3 separate regions of the Homo sapiens genome follow, and regions 2 and 3 are each linked to region 1. Evidence: promoter capture Hi-C in 16 types of primary human blood cells and fetal thymus (Javierre and others, 2016). All regions are on one chromosome and are shown on one strand. The core of a region is centred on a gene start or on the middle of the fragment in contact, and the rest is flanking DNA. Distances in the headings are between cores, read along the strand shown. Region 1 holds the start of POLE2 (DNA polymerase epsilon 2, accessory subunit). Region 2 overlaps NEMF (nuclear export mediator factor). Region 3 overlaps NEMF (nuclear export mediator factor).

Region 1 (2,587 bases), core at 39-2,538:
AAAGCAATAAAAACTGATACAGAGAGGTATATCCAATCCAGCAGGTATTTCAATATGTATAAAATATTGTGTTCTAGGTCAGGCGCAGTGGTTCACGCCTGTAATTCCAGCATTCTGGGAGGCCACGGCGCGAGGACTACTTGAGCCCAGGAGTTCAAGACCAGCCTGGGCAACATAGCCAGACCCCGTCTCTAAAAAACATACAACAACAAAAAATCAGCCAGGTATGGTGGCCCATGCCTGCAGTCCCAGCTACTTCAGCCCAGGAGGTTGAGGCTGCAGTAAGTCAAGTTCGCATCACTGCCCTCCAGCTTGGGCGAGAGTGAGACCATGACTCAAAAAAAAAAAAATACATATATATATATACACACACACCACACACACACACACACACACACACACACACACACACGTACATATAGAACTCTAAAACACGGAGCAGATTTAATGAGAGAAATCTTGGGAAGGTTCATATGTTCTATAGGTCCTCAAAAACACGGATATGCCCAGGAAACCTGACTTTCACATAAATTGGCAACTGCAGACGTGCAAGTGGGCTTTCTCGGGTCTCTCATCTTATGTCTCAGCAACCTTCCCGGGAGCCTGAGAGCTGTCCAGGTCACAATGTTGATAACCGGCTGCCATAGATAGGTTGCAGCTTCTCGGGCTCAGTTTGACATGTGCAGAAGAGCCTCGGCCCGCCTAGAAGAAACATTAAACTCCTCGCATGGGTCGGGGAAACCAAAGAAGGCACGGCAGCCTCAAGATCCACCTCGCTTCTTAGAACTTTTTTTTAATGGAGTCTCTCTCTGTCGCCAGGATGGAGTAGAGTGGCACGATATCGGCTCACCGCAACCTCCTCCTCCCGGGTTCAAGCGATTCTCCTGCCTCAGCCTCCCAACTAACTGGGACTACAAGCGCGCGCCACCACGCCCAGCTAATTTTTGTATTTTTAGTAGAGACGGGGCTTCACCATGTTGGCCAGGATGGTCTCGATCTCCTGACCTCGTGATCCGCCCGCCTCGACCTCCCAAAGTGCTGGGATTACAAGCGTGAGCCACCGCGCCCGACCGCTTCTTAGAACTCTGAAATTTAAGGTCAAGCCCCCTCTCGGCGCGCGGGGAGCCGCCGCGGTGCGTCCCGCTGCCGCACCAGGCAGACGGGCCCCAGCTCTTCCCTCTCGCCCTTCAAGCTGCCCGAGCCCACTCACCCACGGAGCAGCAAGCCCCGCAACTTGAAGGCGGAGAGCGCCCGGCTCCGCAGCCGCTCCGGCGCCATATTTGCGATTTGGCGCCACCGCCGCAGCTCCGCCCCTTCCCGGGCGCGCCCCTCCCAGCTCCGGCCTCGGCCCTGGCCCGCGTGGCGCTAAACCCTGTTAAGATCCCTGCTTGGTCTCCGCTGCCTGCGCCGCAGCAACTCAGACCTTACAGTTCGCAACCCCGGACCGAGTAGGCTGAAAGTGGAGACCACCTCGCGCTCCTTTGCTGCCGGGAAACTGAGGGCCAGAGCGTCTTCCCTGGTGTCGGGCTGCGTTGAGCCAGCCACAGCGCTCTCACCGCTGCCCTAGACATTGCAGGACTGCGGCCGAGCTTCCCGGACACAGGATCCCCCTTCTTTCGAGGCCATGAGAGCTGTTGGGTTCCCTACTTCGCACAAGCTCTGGAAATACTGTGCCTCGACATTTACCGGAAGCTGTTATAAATCTCCATCGCTCCCACCTACCCCGATTTTTATTTAACTTGAGGGCTTCGTATGCGCCATGCACTGTCATAAGCACTTTAAATGTGTGAATTCATGTGTTGCTCATGACAGCCCAGTGAGCTGTCTACTGTCTTTTCCACAACAGCCTCATTTTACAGATGAGAAAACTGAGACACAAAAATGGTAAAGGACTTGCTCAAGATGAAACGACGAGTTAAATGGTGTAGTCAGGATTTGAACTCAGTTATTCTGATTTCAGGTGGACTGTCAATCTGCCACACTTCAAAACGCTTGCTCCAATGAGTTGACTAACCCGTGGAGTGCTTATAAGTAAACACGCGGCTTATAAAACAGGAGGATGATTTCACAGTACCAATATAAAGTGACCTCCAACGTATACGGGTTTTTTTCTTTTTTAAAAAAAAGCGAAGTTTAATGAAGGAAGGGAAACAAAAGTATATGTATTTGTTTTTGCATTTTAAAAACCTCTGGGCCCGGGCGCGGTGGCTCACATCTGTAATCCCAGAACTTTGGGAGGCCGATGCTGGCAGATCACTTGAGGCCAAGAGTTCGAGAACAGCCGGGCCAACATGGTGAAACCCCGTCTCTACCAAAAAAAAAAAAAAAAAAAAAAAATTAGCCAGGCGTGGTGGCGCGCGCCTGTAATCCCAGCTCCTGGGGAGGTTGAGGCAGGAGAATCTCTTGAGCCTCGGAGGCGGAGGGTGCAGTGAGCCGAGATCGTGCCACCACTCCAGCCTGGGCAACAAAGCAAGGCTCTGTCTCAAAAACAAAAAAAGCCGGGCGCAGTGGTTCACGCCTGTAATCCCAGCACTTTGGGAGGCCGAGGTGGGCGGATCATCTGAGGTCAGGAGTTCGAGACCAGCCT
Region 2 (2,587 bases), core at 60-2,559, 160 kb after region 1:
AGGCGTGAGCCACCACACCCAGTCCCTTTATTTTTTTTAAGTCTCTTTGATGACACTTCTAAGTATGCCAAATTTCCCTTTTGTATGCTTCATTTATGTTCAAAATTAATTAATTGTTTCCACTAATCTTCTACTTCTAATACATATCAACTATGGACCATGAGCTTATGGCTTATGGTATCCTGTAAATAGTCCACCACCTTATATCCAGTTACCCCTACCAATTCTTTTTTTTTTTTTTTTTTTTTTTTTTTTCTTTAAGAGAGTCTTTGCCAGGAGCGGTGGCTCAGGCCTGTAATCCCAACACTTTGGGAGGCCGAGGTAGGTGGATCACTTGAGGTCAGGAGTTCAAGACCAGCCTGGCCAATATGGTGAAACCCCATCTCTACTAAAAATACAAAAATTAGCTGGGCGTGCTGGCGCATGCCTGTAATCCCAGCTACTCAGGAGGCTGAGGCAAAAGAATCGCTTGAACCCAAGAGGCGGAGGTTACAGTGAGCCGAGATGACACTACTGCAATCCAGCCTGGGCAACAGAGCAAGACTCTGTCTCAAAAAAAAAAAAAAAAAAGAAAGGGACAGAGTCTCTCTGTTGCCCAGGCAAGGCTCAAACTCCTGGACTCAAGCAATCTCCCACCTTAGCCTCCCAAGTAGCTAGGATTACAAGTGCCCTGCCACTGTGCCCAGCTTATTCCTACAAACTTTACTAATATAACCCAAAGAGAATTTTCCTGGTATCGTCTCTAAGCTTTTGATAACCTATTTCAATCCAATGTAATAACTCTCATTCTTTATTAAATCCCCTTCCTCCTATCCCTGGCCATAAGGTTCTTTTTCTTATTAACAATTAAAATAATATTAGTATATCAAATCCAAATACAATTTACTTGGCAATACCTACTCTTTTAGATTACATGTACCGTCTTTTTGTACAAATATTGAAGTATGACATGGACTGGTAACAAGACTACTCTGTAGCCTCTAAAATATCTTACAATTGTTTCTAATTTTTTAATATAAAAGACCCTTTAGTTAAGACCAATAAGAAAGAATGCTTTCTTCAAGACTCAAATACGGTCTGGGTATGGCAGCTCACGCCTGTAATCCCAGCACTCTGGGAGGCCGAGGCAGGCGGATCACAACGTCAGGAGTTCAAGACCAGCCTGGCCAACATGGTGAAACCCCATCTCTACTAAAAATACAAAAATTAGCCAGGCATGGTGGCGTGTGCCTGTAATCCCAGCTACTTGGGAGGCTGAGACACGAGAATCACTTGAACCCAGGAGACTGAAGTTGCAGTGAGCCAAGACTGCGCCACTGCCCTCCAGCCTGGTGACAGAGCAAGACTCCGTCTCAAAAAAAAAAAAAAAAAAAAAGACTTAAATACGAAACAAATTTTACAGAAGTTAATCTAAGACCACCTTCAAAAAAAAGACAAAAAATCCACTCCTTGACAAAGGTTGAAAAAAAACAACAATAAACACATAAATTCATTATTAAAATTAATGCTAACATTTTCATAACTAAGAAGAGTTCTTCTCCAGACCTTATAGCCCAAATTGACTGAAATTCGCATTTTATATACTCACATAGGCAGAATAACTTCCTAGGATAAACAATCTGCTCCTCCTTAACTCAGTAGTTTTAAGAATGACCTATACTGATTTGATTAAACAGTAACCTACATGTAGGGCTATCTTTAAATCCCTAGAGGAAAATCACAATCAGTTCTTCCAGAGTCCCTGAGTAATAATTTTATTCAAGAAAAATAAAGACAAAAGGCATCATTGAAAGGACAGAAGTTCACACAAAGGAATAGTAAAAAGGGGATTATTTATCATGGAGAGTACAGATGGACACATAGTACATATTTAAAGCTTGTTTCATTTCCCTATCAACAGCTTGGTGAAATCAACCTGCTGCTGTGTGCCACAAAGCTATAGCTGTCATCCCCAAATGTGAATACTGGAACAACCACTGTGATTTATCACATAATAGACATAACTCTGCCTGTGCCATGCAACAGTAACAGCTCTTTGATTTATAAAGTGCTTAACATTGTCTGCTCCATTGAGGAAATCTTTCTATACATTTAGATTGACACGTACACCTAACCCATAGAATTCTAAGTATTTTTTAAAGTGACTGACCTATTAGTGTAGTCTGATTTGGAGATGTTTACACAATCCCAGTGTCCTATTTCATTGGCCTGTTACCTCATCCATAAAACTGAAATTGTATTTGTTCTTCACAGTCCACTGAGTTGCTAAACAACTTAAATGAAATACATATTATTCATCTGCCTTAAAAAGTGCTACACAACAGGTAGCATTATTATTGTCATTATTATTAAGGACAGGCCCCAAAAGAACTATTTTGGGTTACTATTAAATAAATTAAACTTTAATAATCTGAGAATTTTGTGAAAGCCCTTGTGATATGGAAACACTTACCTAATTTGTAATCCAAAACAGACTCTAAATTGCTGGGGGGTAAAGCTCTTCTCTGTAAAGCCTCTAATGAAATAACTCAATGCCATAACAGATACATTGCCAAAGTAAGGAGCGGAGCAGGAAGGAAATGAACAT
Region 3 (2,587 bases), core at 37-2,536, 140 kb after region 1:
CCTTCTTGCAGGATAGGAGAAGGGCTCTGAATTGTATTAAGATGGGAAGCAACTGGAAGAGAAAAAGGACTTCACTTTTGATTTATTTATTTTAATATATTTTTTGAGACGGAGTCTCGCTCTGTCTCCCAGGCTAGAGTGCAATGGCATGATCTCAGCTCACTGCAACCTCCACCTCCCGGGTTCATTAGATTCTCCCACCTCAGCCGCCCAAGTAGCTGGGATTACAGGTACCCGCCATCACCTCAGGCTAATTTTTGTATTTTCAGTAGATATGGGGTTTCACCATGTTGGCCAGGCTGGTCTCAAACTCCTGGCTTCAAGCGATCCACCGGCCTCGGCCTTCCAAAGTGCTGGAATTACAGGCGTCAACCACCACACCCAGTCTTCACTTTTGATTCAAAAGGATCACAACGGGGCTAGGCATGGTGGCTCACACCTGTAATCCCAGCACTTTGGGAGGCCGAAGGTCAAGGCCTGAAGCGGGCGGATCACCTGAGGTCAGCAGTTTGAGACCAAGCTGACCAACATGGTGAAACCCTGTCTCTACTAAAACTACAAAAATTAGCTGGGTGTGGTGGCGGGCGCCTGTAATCCCAGCTACTTAGGAGGCTGAGGTGGGAGAATCGCTTGAACCTGGGAGGCAGAAGTTGCAGTGAGCTGAGATCAAGCCATTGCACTCCAGCCTGAGCAATAAGAGTGAAACTCCATCGCAAAAAAAAAAAAGGGTCACAATGGCTGCTATGTGGAGAACAGACTGTAGTGGGAAAAGAGGAGGAGGAGAGAGATCCAATAAGAGGCTACTTGTCATAGTCCATGTGAACACAGAGGTGATAGGGGACTGATCAGTGGAAATAATGAGTAGTAGCCAGATTCTGGCTGTACTTTAAAGAAAGAACCAAAGGATTTACTGATGGATTGCATGATTTATGGGAAAAGAGTCCAGGATATCACAAACATTTTTAACCTGAGTGAACAGAAAAATGAAGGTGTTATTTACTGAGATGAGGAAGAATAGGGGAGGAGCAGTCCTGGGGGGAAAAAATACTGGAAATACATATATTTAAAGCAAAGTTAAGTTTGAAAGATACTTCTGAATTAGAAAACCTCATTTAAACAGAAGAAATAATTATGTCCATTAAATTACGCAGGCACAAACAACTAACATTCACTCTAAGAAATACTCAGTACCTTCTCAGCAGCTTCAACAGTCTTTTGTGTTTTCTTAGCAGCATATCTCTTGTGATCATAATACCTAGAAAAACATATTTCTCTTAAATTTTAAGTATAATATTTATTCTTCAGTTTTCTACTTAGTTCTAACTTGACAAATTCTCAAATTATACAGAACAAATCAGAACAAACTGTATAATTAACAAAACTAAATTTAAAAAAGTATTTTCACCCAAAAAAAGTATGCATGTACAAGTGAAATTTAAAATTTTTTAAAATGTCCTTAATTCCTTAATTTATTGCAGATAACACTTGGCCTAAAATGTAAAGTTAAATGACTTACTTTTTGGCATTGGCATATGCTGACAAGCTGAGATCAACATCTACAAGTAAGGGCTTATTTTTCTGAGGCTTCTGCAGCTGTTTATTCTTTTGTTTTTTCTTTTTTCCTTTTGGTGGTTCAGTTTCATTTTTCTCAACATTGACGTCACCATCAACATCATCATCTTCCTCCTCTGATAACAAGTATGGATTTCTATTAAAAATATTCAATAGCATTTCACTAACGTCAATGACATCACTTTTATTTTCAATTTTCTTCTTCAATAAAATTATAAATGGTTTACAGTACTGGAAGTTTCATTATTTATTTTAATCTAAATTAGTTTTTTCCCTTTCTTTGAGAATTTCAAAATATGAAGAAAAAATGTTTAATACAGTGAACAATTAAAATAACAAAATAAAGACAAGCATTAACTGCTTGACTAAGAGTCAAACTTACCTTAGCAGCATTGTAACATGGTTTGTTTGTAGTTTTAATTCTTTGATTGCACTTGCAACAGGGTCTCCTTGAGCCTGGGCTTCTTTCACAATTAACCCAATTTCTGTCCAATCTATCTGGTTAGCTAAAGCACTTCGAACTACCTGAATGGCTCTGTCAACTATTTGTAGGTTCATTTCTATGAGCTCTCCTTTCAGTTTGTCTATTTCCTTAAAAAACAAACCACACACATTTACTACATTGCCAGTTAAAGTTAACATTTTTGAAAAAGCACTGAGAAAGCCAAACATAATACCTGAGCCTGCTGAAGAGCTTCCAATCTGTTTTCGTGATCCTTTCGAACATTATCTAATTTCTTCAATGCTTGCTTTTCCTTTTATTGGCAAAACAGATTTTTTAAAAATTAGATTTCTCCTACCTCATGACATCCCTCTCTTACTTCCCAACACTCACTATCCTGACCCCATCTATGCTGTTATCTAGCTAGCTGAAGTTCCCATAGTCTACCACCCTAGGCCTATCCCACTACAATGCGTTCCATGCCCCAAAATTACTTCTCCTGTCTTCCTAACTCCCACTCCTTATATAGAAAGGTATTTTGATTACAGGTTACTGTGTATATAAGATATACCC

Evidence for each region. Contacts are between HindIII fragments. The CHiCAGO score rates a contact against its expected background, and 5 or more counts as called.
Region 2: a fragment that was not itself captured here is called in contact with the fragment with the promoter of POLE2 in region 1 in 1 of 17 cell types (erythroblasts); the score reaches 5.7 in erythroblasts.
Region 3: a fragment that was not itself captured here is called in contact with the fragment with the promoter of POLE2 in region 1 in 2 of 17 cell types (megakaryocytes and erythroblasts); the score reaches 7.5 in megakaryocytes.

Annotation. Positions count from the first base shown.
Region 1 is chr14:49,686,926-49,689,512 of GRCh38, forward strand. POLE2 (DNA polymerase epsilon 2, accessory subunit) reads right to left here and starts at 1,289. Exons shown (of 19, transcript NM_002692.4): 1 at 1,211-1,289. The coding sequence starts at 1,278. RefSeq lists enhancers at 526-1,287, 1,288-2,047 and a silencer at 1,352-1,401. The HindIII fragment of the contact is 3,892 bases long and covers 1-2,587 here.
Region 2 is chr14:49,847,480-49,850,066 of GRCh38, forward strand. All of the region lies in intron 3 of NEMF (nuclear export mediator factor), which reads right to left. Among named protein-coding and RNA genes, the nearest start is that of NEMF, 4.0 kb to the right of the region's middle. The HindIII fragment of the contact is 1,129 bases long and covers 746-1,874 here.
Region 3 is chr14:49,827,100-49,829,686 of GRCh38, forward strand. It overlaps NEMF (nuclear export mediator factor), which reads right to left. Exons shown (of 33, transcript NM_004713.6): 12 at 2,250-2,327; 13 at 1,955-2,163; 14 at 1,517-1,708; 15 at 1,192-1,255. Among named protein-coding and RNA genes, the nearest start is that of NEMF, 24 kb to the right of the region's middle. The HindIII fragment of the contact is 5,222 bases long and covers 1-2,587 here.